Linked DNA regions of Homo sapiens: all the other regions are linked to region 2. The links are contacts of gene promoters, found by promoter capture Hi-C in blood cells and fetal thymus (Javierre and others, 2016). All regions are on one chromosome and are shown on one strand. Each heading gives the region's core, a stretch centred on a gene start or on the middle of the fragment in contact. The rest is flanking DNA. Distances are from core to core; before and after follow the strand shown.

The links. Contacts are between HindIII fragments. The CHiCAGO score rates a contact against its expected background, and 5 or more counts as called.
Region 1: a contact is called between a fragment that was not itself captured here and the fragment with the promoter of UBE2J2 in region 2, in 13 of 17 cell types (naive CD4 T cells, naive CD8 T cells, activated CD4 T cells and 10 more). The highest score is 11.3, in naive CD4 T cells.
Region 3: a fragment that was not itself captured here is called in contact with the fragment with the promoter of UBE2J2 in region 2 in 15 of 17 cell types (naive B cells, activated CD4 T cells, endothelial precursors and 12 more); the score reaches 10.9 in naive B cells.

The regions. Positions count from the first base shown.
Region 1 is chr1:1,099,303-1,103,318 of GRCh38, reverse strand. The region is part of intron 1 of C1orf159 (chromosome 1 open reading frame 159); the gene reads left to right. Among named protein-coding and RNA genes, the nearest start is that of C1orf159, 15 kb to the left of the region's middle. The HindIII fragment of the contact is 5,940 bases long and covers 1-4,016 here.
Region 2 is chr1:1,271,833-1,276,413 of GRCh38, reverse strand. It overlaps UBE2J2 (ubiquitin conjugating enzyme E2 J2), which reads left to right and starts at 2,560. Exons shown (of 7, transcript NM_058167.3): 1 at 2,560-2,748. It overlaps LINC01786 (long intergenic non-protein coding RNA 1786), which reads right to left and starts at 2,412. Exons shown (of 3, transcript NR_185846.1): 1 at 1,933-2,412; 2 at 1,115-1,611. RefSeq lists enhancers at 1,076-1,714, 2,905-3,412, 3,413-3,919, 3,920-4,428 and silencers at 1,926-1,975, 2,136-2,715. The HindIII fragment of the contact is 5,565 bases long and covers 1-4,581 here.
Region 3 is chr1:1,065,515-1,069,701 of GRCh38, reverse strand. LOC100288175 (a long non-coding RNA gene) reads right to left here. Exons shown (of 4, transcript NR_148960.1): 4 at 3,249-3,872. It overlaps LOC105378948 (a long non-coding RNA gene), which reads left to right and starts at 365. Exons shown (of 5, transcript NR_168433.1): 1 at 365-1,141; 2 at 1,662-1,904; 3 at 2,904-2,956; 4 at 3,104-3,236; 5 at 3,869-4,067. RefSeq lists enhancers at 1-404, 376-490, 3,725-4,187 and silencers at 49-448, 569-638, 799-988. The HindIII fragment of the contact is 4,423 bases long and covers 1-4,187 here.

The DNA.
Region 1 (4,016 bases), core at 211-2,710, 170 kb after region 2:
GTGTTATGACCTAGCTGTTGGAATAGTCAAAAAAGCACTTTGGAGCAGGTTTAGTGTCTGTGCTCAGTGAAGAAAAGGGAAATGCACGCATAATGAACAAAGTGCCGGAAATCTCAGCGAGGAAACATGTTTAAATGAGCCAAATGGGAATTTTAGGTCAAACAAACACAAGATCTGGCTGGGCGTGGTGGCTCACGCCTGTAATCCCAGCACTTTGGGAGGCTGAGGTAGGTGGATCACCTGCGGTCAGGAGTTCAAGACAAGCCTGACCAACATGGTGAAACCCCGTCTCTACTAAAAATACAAACAGCAACAACAAAAATTTAGCAGGGCTTGGTGGTGGTCGCCTGTAATCCCAGCTACTCGGGAGGCTGAGGCAAAGAATCACTTGAGCCCAGGAGGCAGAGGCTGCAGTGAGCCCAGATCATGCCACTGCACTCCAGCCTGGGGCTGGGGGACAAGAGTGAAACTCTTGTCTCAAAAAAAAACAAGATCTGAAATTTTATTTTATTTATTTATTTTTGAGACAGTTCTACTCTGTCACCCAGGCTGGAGTTCAGTGGCACGATCTCGTCTCACTGCAACTTCTGCCTCCCAGGTTCAAGTGATTCTCCTGCCTCAGCCTCCTGAGTAGCTGGGACTACAGGTGCCCACCACTACGCCTGGCAATTTTTTTTTTTTTTTTTTTTTTTTTTTTTTTTTTTAGTAGAGACAGGGTTTCGCTATGTTGGCCAGGCTTGTCTTGAACTGACCTCAGGTGATCCACCTACCTCAGCCTCTCAAGGTGCTGGGATTACAGGCGTGAGCCACTGTGCTTGGCCAAGATCTGAAATTTTAAAATTCACTGAATGAACATAACAGAAGGGAAATAACAGAGAAAATAGGCAGAGTCCTCAAAGACAGAGGAATAGAAATCATCCAAGCTGGAAAAAAAAAAAAGGGTGGAAGTGATTGGAGGAAAATAAAACAAAACCATGAACAGAGCCTCTGGGACCTGTAGGTGATATCTAAGCCTCAGGGACCTTAGGTGATATCAACATGTCTAACACATGGGTAATTACAGAGGTCCAGGAGAGGAGAGGCACAGTGGACAGAAGTACTTGAAGAAACAGTAACCAGAAACTTTCAAATTTGGTGAAAGACATAAATGTTTAGTTTTAAGAATCCCAAACAGGATAAATGAGAATAAAACCACACCTGGACCCATCACTTCAAAAGTTTGTTTTTTTTTTTTTTTTTTTTTTTTTGAGACAGAGTTTTGCTGTTGTCGCCCAGGCTGGAGTGCAGTGGTGCGATCTCGGCTCACTGCAACCTCTACCTCCCAGTTCAAGCGATTCTCCTGCCTCAGCCTCCCATGTAGCTGGGACTATATGCCCGTGCCACCATGCCCGATTAATTTTTGTATTTTTAGTAGATACGGGGTTTCTCCATGTTGGCCAGGCTAGTCTCGAACTCCTGACCTCAGGGGATCTGCCTGCCTCAGCTTCCTAAAGTGCTGGGATTACAGGTGTAAGCCACCACACCCAGCCCTAAAACTATTAAAAACTAAAGATTAACTTTAAAAATCTTGAAAGCAGCCAGAGAAAAACAACAGATCACACACAGCACAGCACTGTGAAGACTGAGCTGATAAACCATGAGCCAATAGACCGTGAGCCGACAGACTGTGAGCTGATTGATAGACCATGAGCCGACGGACCCTGAGCCAATAGACTGAGCTGATTGATAGATGTGAGCCAATGGACCCTGAGCCGATAGACCATGAGCTGACAGACCCTGAGCTGATAGACCATGAGCTGATAGACTGAGTCTGTGAGATTTAAAAAAAAATTTTTTTTTATACAGTCTTGCTCTGTTACCAAGGCTGGAGTGCAGTGGTACAGTCTCAGCTTACTGCAACCTCTGCCTCCTGGGTTCAAGCGATTCTTGTGTCTCAGCCTCCCAAGTAGCTGGGACTACAAGCGTGTGCTACCATGCTGAGCTAATTTTTGTATTTTTAGTAGAGATGGGGTTTTGCTATGTTGGCCAGGGTGGCATCAAACTCCTGGCCTCAAGTGACCCACCCACTTGGCCTCCCAAAGTGCTGGGATTACAGGCGTGAGCTGCCACGCCCGACCAAGTTTGTGAGTAATTATGGAGACCAGAAGAAAGTGGAACTGCTGAAAGAAAAAAAAAGCATAGAATTCTGTATTCTCTAAGAATAAACATTACATGAAAATATTTTCAGAAAAAGGAAAACTGATAAAATTTGTCACCATCAAATTGTGCTACCGGAAATGCTGAAGATAGTATATACTACAGTGAAACTCAGATCTTTAAGAATGAATGATGAACATCAAAATTAGTAAATATCTGGGGAAAAATTAAAACATCTCTTGGGTTTATAATGTATGCAGATATGACAGCCACAACGTGAAGAGTAGTAGAGGGGATCCGTGGACTGTACAGTTGCAAGGTGTCTACATGTCTACATTTTGCATAAAGTGGTATAATGCTAGTTCTAAGTAGACTAGAAAAAGCAAGGTTGAAATTGCAATTCCTAGAGCAACAACTATGAGAATAATGGAAAGAAGCACAACTAAAGGGCCAAAAGATAACTTGGAAAGGAATTTTTAAAACTTCAAATCACGCAAAAGAGGGCCAGAAAGAGAATAGAGGAACAAAAAACACAGGGACAATCAGAAAACAAATAATAAACGGTAAAAACGGTAGACCTGAAATCCAACGATAGTGTCATTATACACTTGCCAAAGCTCAGCACCAAGAACGTGCAGCACCAAGAGTGCGCCCTCGTGTCAACCATGGACTTTGAGTGGTGGTGATGTGTCACTGTCGGTGTGTCAGCTGCAACAAGTGGGATGCTGAGGGTAAGGCTGTGCCTGGGTGGGCACAGCGGGGAGGCACAACTCCTTGTACTTAACTGCTCAATTTTGCTATGAACCTAAAATCACTGAAAAATAAAGGGCAGCGTGTGTATACAAAGGGACAATCAGAAAACGATTAACATACCTACATCTACCCATAACAGTAATTATATTAAATATTAACATACCTACATCTACCCATAATGATAATTATATTAAATATTAATGAATTAAACCCTCCAGTTAAAAGGCAGAGATTGCTAAAATGGACAAATTAGCAAGATTTACTACATGCTGTCTACAAAAGATGCACTGTGGTGTGTGTGTCTGTCTGTCCGTCTATGTATTTGTTTTTTAAGAGATGGGGTCTTGCCTTTTTGCCCAAGGTAAAGTCTAGTACTGCTCAAACTCCTGGGCTCAAGTGATCCTCCTGCCTCAGTCTCCAGAATAGCTGGGATTAGGGGCATGTGCCATCACACTGAACTAAAAGATGCACTTTAAATATAAAAAACACAAGTAGGCAGAAAGTGACTGCAAAAACCATACATATATAGACAACCCACAATCATAGTTGGAGATTTTAACCTCTCTCTCTCCAATTCTTAGAACAATAGACCAAAAACATCAATAGACAACCCAGAATCATAGTAGGAGATTTTAACCTCTCTCTCCGATTCTTAGAACAATAGACCAAAAACAGCAATAGACAATCCACAATCATAGTCGGAGATTTTAACCTCTCTCTCTCTCCAATTCTTAGAACAATAGACCAAAAACATCAGCAGACAATCCACAATCATAGTCAGAGATTTTAACCTCTCTCTCTCCAATTCTTAGAACAATAGACCAAAAACATCAATAGACAACCCACAATCATAGTCGGAGATTTTAACCTCTCTCTCTCCATTTCTTAGAACAATAGACCAAAAACATCAATAGACAATACACAATCATAGTCGGAGATTTTAACCTCTCTCTCTGCAATTCTTAGAACAATCGACCAAAAACATCAATAGACAACGCACAATCATAGTCGGAGATTTTAACCTCTCTCTCTCCAATTCTTAGAATAGACCAAAAACATCAATAGACAATCCACAATCATAGTCAGAGATTGTAACCTCTCTGTCTCCAATTCTTAGAACAATAGAC
Region 2 (4,581 bases), core at 1,311-3,810:
ATCTTTTAACTGTAAGTCCCTGGGTCATAGGGAGTCAAACTGAGGGACAGGATTGACTGAGGGTGGGCAGCCACACTCGCCCAGCAACGCTGAGACACAATAAAGATTTGGTGGACATGGATGTTGCCTCTGGCAAATCTTGGCCAGAAGGGGGTGAATGTAAACCAAAAATTAAATTCTAAGGCCCCCCCAGCCGTCCAAATGGACCCTTCCTCTCAGCCAAGGGCGTTCCAGTGTTAACCTGGGAACTTGTTCAGGCCATGGCGGGAAGGGGTCGTGGGTCATGCCTCCTCCCTTTTGAAATTCAGGAAAAGCTGACTAGCATTAACATCAACACAGGCCTTAAGTCTGATAGGAAACATTAACAATCTATTCTCTCTGAAGCCGGCAACCCGAGGCTTCAGCTGCGTGGAAAACCACAACCCCTTACTGCAACCCAGACATTCCTTTCTATTGATAATAACTCTTTCAACCACTGTCGGTCAGGATCATTTTGAATCTGCCTATAACATAGAGGTCTCCCCACACCACCCCAATTTATCCTGCTCTTTCAGATTGAACCCGTGTAAATAAATCATGTCTCCCTAAAATGTATAAAAGCGAGCTGTGCCACATGCACCTTGGGCACCTCCCGAGATGTCATGGGTGTGTCCTTAACCTTGGCAAAACAAACTTTCTAAAGGGACTGAGACCTTCCTCAGTTTGCACCCTCCAGGCTGGGTTCTCTGTCCCTCAAGCATCCCCTGGCCAGACAATCCCTGCTGTTCAGAGGCAGCCAAGGCTTTCTGGTCCAACCCTGGGGGCTGGAGGAGGTGGGGGCAGGAGGTGGTAACTGGGTTGGGGGATGTTTTCTTGGTTGCCAAAGCAGAGGGTGCCCCCCGCTGCTCAAGATGCTGAGGGTGGTCCCTGTTGTCCTATTCCTGAAGCTGCCAGAGGAAGTCCCTCCGGAGGGCTGGCCCACAGCAGAAGGGCTGCTCCTGCCCTCAGAGGGCAATCTCAGGGTTGAGAAGGTTACAGCCACCATCTGCCACCAACCTAGCTGCTTGTGCCGATCCCACTGGCCAAGGCCATCGGCTCTATGGCTAGAGGCCTGGGCAGCCTGTGTCCTGCTTACCAGAAGGCCACAGATGCGGGTGGGTGGGGTGGTGGGGTCTTGGCAAGACGTGCTGGCCACACCTGTCCGGGGCACCTTCTCCCTGGGGTGTGACTCAGCCATGCTCCTGAGCAGGGGCCTCTGAGTTGAGCCTCGCTGCAGTCTTCCCAGCTGCAGGGCCCCCACAGGTGTGCTGTCATCGCACACTACTGAGGGACAGACAAGGCAGAGCGGGCCTCCATCTGCCGCGGGCCACAGCCGTGAGTGTGCATGCGAGTGGATGTGCTGGTGCCTGTATCTGCGGCCGGTGTGGCTTCCCTCACATAACTTTCCATGCTGTGAAAACAGTTTGGCCTGCCCTGCATGGGAACGGCAGAGGCCTGAGAGGAGGCAGAGGAAGGAGGCTGGATGCTGAGATGTTCTCCGAAGGTGGAGCCGGTGACGGCAGTAATGGAGGCAGGCTGGATTCCCACGGGCTGAGGCTGCGTGGACACTCCTCCTGGCTTCTGCCCCACGGCCTGCAGCAACGTCTCAGACCCACCAAGGTGTCCCAGAGGGCCAGAGTCAGGGCTGAGCATGGACACAGCCTGCCCTCTGCCCGTAGCCACAGCGGGACTGACCCTCAATATTCAGCCACCTTGCTGACCTGTGGTTGTTCCTGAGAGGCAGTCAGGGTTGGGGCAAAGGAGAGGGCCACAGGCAGCCAGGTGGCGAGGTCCACCTCCTGATCCCCCACCAGGGGACCACCCTCAGCTCCCCGCTGTCCTCAGCGGCCTCTCAGGGAGGCGGTGGGCTGCGCGCCTGCCCCCAGCGTCCCACCCCAGCGCCCCGCCACCTACCGCTCTCTCCCAATGTGTCTGGGGTCAGAGAGAGGTGGAGAGGACGCAGCGCCCCGCGCTTTCTGCAGTCTGTCCAAGGGGAGGTCAGGGGCATCCCGGGGCTGGGCAGGCACCTGCAGGGGAGGGTGCTGCGGCGCGGACGTGGGTTGCAAAGAGATGCCACGCGTGTCACTCTCGGGTCCCTGAACGAGAGAGCTCTGAGCTCCCTGGAGCCCAACCCTCCACTGAGCCTCCAGGGGCCCGGGACGCTCCATGCCCGGGCCGCGCCGCGCCTCCCCTAAGGGCCGGGTGGGGCGTGGGAGCGGAGGACAAGGCGGGAGCCGGGAGGCGGGAGGGTCGGGGTTCTTTCTCCACCGGGGTCGCCCTCAGCCGGGCCTGCCGCCCTGGGCCGTGGCACATGGGGAGGGAAGCGCGCGGCTTCGGGGTCTGGGGCTCTCGCGCCCACTAACGGTGCCCGGAGCCGCCCGCCAGTGCGCAAGCGCCGCCCCGCCCCCCGCCCCATCCCCCACCCCGGGGTCGACGGCGACAGAGAGTCGTGGGCGCGGTCCGCCAGTCTGCCTAGAGCGGCCAGCCCTCCCCCTCCCTCCTCACCGCCCCGGACCGCGCACCGGAAGCAGAAGCTAGGCTGGTTCCGCCCCGCGAGCGGCCATCTTGGAGGCTGAGGCGGCGGCGGCGGCGCTGCGGCGGGTTCGGTGGGCCCAATCCCGGGGCGGTGCGGCTGTTTCGGGCGCGGGCCCCGCTTTTCCGCACCCTGCTCCGGCCTCGACTACGGCGAGCCTGAGCGCGGCGGCGGCCCACGCGCAGCGACAGGGAGAGGTGAGCGCGCTCGCAGGCCTGCGCCGGGTCCTCGGGCCCGCTCGTCCCCCCTGCCGGAGCCGGCCACAGCGGCGGCCCGGGGCTGCTGGGGACCCTGCGCGACGCTTCTCCGTTCGCGCCCGCCGCCCGCGGGGCCCCGGCCCGAGCCTGCCTGCGCGGAACCCGAGGTCGGTTACGGCGGGCTCCCGGAGCTCCGGGTCAGGGTCATGTCGGGGACTTGACCACTCGGCCGGGTTTCCCGTCAGCTGGGACACTTGCAGCTGCCCCAGGACGGGCAGCCTCGATCCTGGTTCGTCAGTGGATCACGGGAGTCTGTGTCGGGGGAGGGCTGCCGTCGAGCCCGCCGTCGCCTCGCCCCTGAACTGTTAGACTCCAGACTGCCCCGTAAACCCCGAGAGAAACGAGCGTGCCCGGGACTGTGCTTAGGGCCAGCGTTTCTGGGAAACCCGGGCGGTGACAGTGGGAGACCACCGCCGGCCGGCGAGTGAGACACGAGCCCGGAACAAGTCTCTAAGCGGCGCCGGGCCTCGCCATCCACACCTGCCAGTTCCCTGCATCCTTTCAGCCCCTGGCCAGGTGTCACCTCCTGGCGTCCTTTTCAGTGCCTGCCACTTAGTGCGTGTGTATTTAACTCTAGTCCGGTTGCCATCCTCTTGCCAGACCCAGATAGGAAGCGGCTGAAAGGTCGGGCCTCAGCCCGGTGGGAGGTGGGCAGCGAAGAGTGTACAGCGGGCTTGGCTGGGGCAGGTCGGTGGCCCCGCGCCCTGCTCCAGGGGAACCAGACTGTGTAATCTGGCTTCCGAAGAAAGGATCGTGAGTATCTCGCTTAGTCTAGCACCTGAGCCTAGGGCGTGGTTGGGTCTGGGTGCCCGGAACTTGCAGTCCGTCATCTGCACGGCCTGGCACCGCTGACCTCCTTAGCAGTTCCACTCTCGGCAGGGATGTGCGTGAGTGACAGGCAGGTGAGCCAGGCAGGTAGGTGAGTGCTTGAGTGACAGGCAGGTGAGCCAGGCAGGTAGGTGCGTGGATGAGTGACAGGCAGGTGACCCAGGCAGGTGCATGTGTGAGTCGCAGGTGAGTGTCCCATTTCCATCGGCCCGGGCTTCCGTCCAGCCTCCGGAGCAGTCTGGTGGAGAAGGCAGAGACTTCCCTGGCAGTCCTGGACCTGGGTGTGCCATGCGCCTGGCCGATGGGTCAGGCCAAGGTTTCCTGCCACATCCCCTAAGCAGGAAAGAGCTGTCCAGACAAAGAGGGACGGGTGAGGGACGCTGGGCAGCCACTGCCTCAGCACCTGGGCACAGCTGCCCTCGGTGATTCACGCTGCTTTAATGCAGTTTCTGTGTGTGAACATTTTTTTTTCCTGTGCCTTTTTGTTTTAAAATCGCCAACTCTTTCTCTCAGCAGGATGATATGCTTGGTGTCCTTTGTCTGTGGGGATGTTTGAAGGGAACCCGAGGCACATATGCTTCAAACTCTGTTCTCACAGTTTGCTTCCTTTGTGGAATTTTTTTTTTTTGATACAGGGTCTCTGTTGGCCCAGCTAGAGTGCAGTGACATGATCTCAGTTCACTACAGCCTCCGGCTCCCGAGTTCAAGTAATTCTCCCACCTCAGCCTCCAGAGTAGCTGGGATTGCAGGTGCCCACCACCACACCCGGCTAATTTTTTTTTTTTTTTTTTTTTTTTTTTTTTGAGACGGAGTTTCGCTCTTGTTGCCCAGGCTGGAGTGCAATGGCTTGATCTTGGCCCACCACAGCCTCCACCTCCTGGATTCAAGTGATTCTCCTGCCTCAGTCACCCGAGTAGCTGGGATTACAGGCACATGCCACCATGC
Region 3 (4,187 bases), core at 918-3,417, 210 kb after region 2:
ACGCGGGCGCGGCTAGGCCGGGGGTTCCCTGCGGCTCCTCAGACACCCGCGGCTCCGCAGGTTCGCGTCCTCGCCGTCCCAGGGCTGCGGGGTTCTGCGCGCGGAGCAGCGGCTCAGCCCTGCACCCCGCACGTCCCAGTCCCTCCCAGAGGACTCCGGACCGGCCCCGGCGCTCCACTCACACCGGGGATGCCCGGGGAGCCGGGGGCTGCAACCCGATTAGCGGGGGGCGGCGCCCACGTTTTGGTTCTCGCGCTCCTGAGGCGGCTCGCGCTGGGGGGAGGGGCCGCCGGTCACCATGGCGACGCCCGCACAGGCCACGCCCCGCAGGGCCACGCCCCCACCTGCTCGCGCAGGCGCAGTTACTCGCCCCGGATGTGCCGCTGCAGCGCCAGGTACGTGAACTTGTACGGAGCCTCCGTCTGCACCATTCCCCAGTGCTGCCGCCAAACCAGCTGGATCGTCTTCGGGACGTCGGTGTCGCAGTCCAGCCCTGCGGACAAGCGCGCTTGGGGAGGGGCTACGGATGGGGGGAAGGTGCCGGCAGGCAGGGGCGGGGCTGCTGATGAGGGGCGGGGCTTGCCGGTAGCGGTGGGGTCGTCCTGAGGGGTGGGGTCGTCCTGAGGGGTGGGGTCGTCCGGAGGGGTGGGGTCGCCCGGAGGGGTGGGGCTATAGCAGGGCAGGGCGGGGGGACCCAGAGTGGAGCGGCTCGCCCTGCCTGCGGATGACGTCCACCAGGATGTCAATCACGATGATGGTGCCCGTGCATCCGATGCCCCCACTGAGGACAAACTAGGCGGCCTTTGACGAGAGTGGGGGGCGGGGGCGGGGGCGCCCCCGCCCACCCGATGGCTCCGCCCTCGTCGTCCCGCGTGGCCCCGCCCCGCCGCACCTGCACCTGCACAGCCCGCGTGGCCCCGCCCCGCCGCACCTGCATCTGCACAGCCCGCGTGGGCCCGCCCCGCCGCAGCTGAAGTGCACCACCATGGGCCCGGCCCGCGGCTTGCTGCTCTGGGCCCGGTTCACCTCGTCCCGGAAGCCGAGGACGCCGGCGGGATCGGCCCGGACGCCGTAGTCCGGCCAGCCGAAGTACTGGAAGTGCTGCACCGTACGCTGTGGCTCCTCCTGAGCGGGGCAAGCGGTGAGTGTGACCCCAGGGTGGGAGGAGGAGGCTGAGGCACAGCTGGGTTTCCGGGAGTGCCCAAGCGGAGGGGCTGCGGGAGCCAAGGCGAGCAGGAGGAGGAGGAAGGAAATGGGGAGGGGGCGCCGAGATGGCCCCAGGTGGCTCAGGTGCCTGGGGAAGGGAAGAGGGAGCTGGGGGCGGGCGAAGCAGGCTGTGAGGACAGTTATTTTATAAGGAAAAACCAAATGTGAGGGGTCCATGGGGTCCTGGAGGACCCCCCCACACACACTGGGCGGGGGCTGGAGGGAACACGAGGTAATCTGCCCGGAGCAGAAATGGGCGTCTCTGGTATACAACGGAGACCAAAGCTGCAGTTGGAGAGGTGTGTGGGAGGAGCGGCCGCCAGCCCAGGGCTGAGAATGTGGCCACGTCAGTGACCCCTGTCCAGGCTTGGAATGCACCTCCTGGGTTGAGGGGTGTGGAAGCCCCCAAAGGCAGTGGGGTTGGATGCAGGCAGGTGTGGGGTCTCCCAGTGCAGGCCGACAGCAGGCACGCTCCACAGCCGCCAGGCTCACCTGGCCCGGCCGCCACACCTGCAGCTCCCGCACGCAGTAGCCCTGGGCCTGGCCCTTGCCGAGGACGCGCATGTGCACACGGCCGAACTCTTGGCTGCCGGGCAGCTCTGGCCAGTCCCGGAAACACTTGTTCCGAGGGGAGCGCTTTGCATCAGCCTTGCTGGCAGCACCTCGGCACCCCGCCCCTGCGACCTGCAGAGACGCAGGTGTGTACGTGCAGCCACGGGGCTCTGTGGGAGCCTCCCCACTCCCACGGCGTCCCACAGCCTCCTTGGCCTGGTCGGGAAGGGCCTTGGGCAGCCGAAGATGCACGGGGTGGGATGGGCACTGGGAGCACTGGCACCGCACCCCTACCCGGCCCCGCTCCATCTCCCTGGTGGTCATGACGATGACACGCGTGTTCTCCTGGTGCACCGTGGCCCAGAAAGCAGCCACCGTGGCCTGCAGACAGGCCTGCAGACAGCCCTGCAGGCGATGTACACCCTGCGCCCGCGAGGCCCTGCCCCGCGGGGAGGAGCCACAGCGTACGGTGCAGCACTTCCAGTACTTCGGCTGGCCGGACTACGGCGTCCGGACCGATCCCGCCGGCGTCCTCGGCTTCCGGGACGAGGTGAACCGGGCCCAGAGCCGCGAGCCGCGAGCCGCGGGCCGGGCCCATGGTGGTGCACTTCAGCTGCGGCGGGGCGGGCCCACGCGGGCTGTGCAGGTGCAGGTGCGGCGGGGCAGGGCCACAAGGGATGTCCACCCTGCCCCTGCCATGGCCCGGCTCCTCCTCAGGGTCAGTCTGAAAGGGAATGAGGCCAACTGCTGCTGTTAACAGAGGACAAACAAGTCCATGCAAATGCTATGCAAATGATATGCAAACGACACACAAATATTATGCAAAGAGCCCTGGTGGCTTAAACACACTCCTCACTCCAGGCCAGCAAGGGGCTGAGGACCAATGCCCGTCCAGCCTCTCTGAGGACCCCTTGGAGACTGCCGCCCACCCCTCCCTTGGGGACCCTGGTTCTTCCTGAGCCCCCCAGGAGCAATGGGCCCAGGCCCCGCCTCCCGCACACACCCACCCTGATGTAGTCGGCTCCGGGCCCGCTGTCATCCTCGTTGAGCAGGATGACTCAAGGGTAGCATCAACTGGGAAGGGAGGTGCCGCTCAGTTCTCCAGGGCACAGCTCGTGGGCCTCACCCTGCCTCTTTGCCCGCAGACCCTGTGGTGAGCAGAGATGGAGGGTCCAGGGTATGCAAGGGGGAGCCTCAGGTCAGCGGTGGCAGATGCTCGGCCTGCCCCCCACCTCCCCCAGGCCCGACGGGTGACGCCCTGGCCTCCGCCCTCACAGGGAAGGATGTTCTTGTAGTGATTCTTGGGCTTGTTCTCCACACTCTGCCCCTCCTTCCGAGGGTACAGGAACCGGCATTCCTGCTGCTGCAGCATCTGGAGGTGATGGAGCCTTCAGCTCACAGCCCCGGCCCCTTCCCAGAGCCCGAGATGGCCACCCCCAGCCCGTCCCGTGTGGGCGGAAGAGTACCTAGGTGCCGAGGCAAGAGACTGAAGGCACAAACTGTTTCAGTATAATAAAGAAAATAGAATAAGAATAGTCATAATACAAATTAGATACAGCGATGATCATGAACAATTATCCATCATTATTATAAACATTATTAATCATTAGCTTTTAATATTACTCTGTTGCATTAATAATATAACCTAGGAATAACCGGCAGGTATAGGGTCAGGTGCTGAAGGGACATTGTGAGAAGTGAATAGAAGGCAAGAGGGGAGCCTTCTGTCATGCCCGCATAAGGGCCGCTTGAGGGCCCCTTGGTCAAGCGGTAACGCCAGTGTCTGGGAAGGCACCCGTTACTGAGCAGACCGGGAAAGGGAGTCTCCTTTCCTTGGAGGAGTCAGGGAACGCTCTGCTCCACCAGCTTCTTGTGGGAGGCTGGATGTTACCCAGGCCTGCCTGCAGTCATCCGGAGGCCTGAACCCCTCCCTGTGGTGCTTCAATGGTCACGTTCCTTGTCCACTTTCATGCTCCTTCCGTACTCCTGGTTCCTCTTTGAAGTTCGTAGTAGATAGCGGTAGAAGAAATAGTGAAAGTCTTAAAGTCTTTGATCTTATAAGTTCATAGAAGAAAACGCTGATGCCTGCCGCCTTCTCTCTCTGCTTCAGCTACCTAAGAGGGAAGGGCCCGCTGTCCTGTGATCACGTGACTTGCTTCACCTTGTCAATCACTTAGAAGACTGACCCTCCTTATCCTGCCCCCTTGTCTTGTATGCAATAAATATCAGCGAGCCCAGCCGTTCAGGGCCACTACCGGTCTCCGTGTCTTTGTGGTAGTGGTCCCCGGGGCCCAGCTGTTTTCTCTTTATCTCTTTGTCTTGTGTCTTTATTTATTACAATCTCTCATCTCCACACACGGGGAGAACACCTGCTAAGCTCCGTAGGGCTGGACCCTACAGTCCCAGACCCTGCGCTCCCATCGGGCACT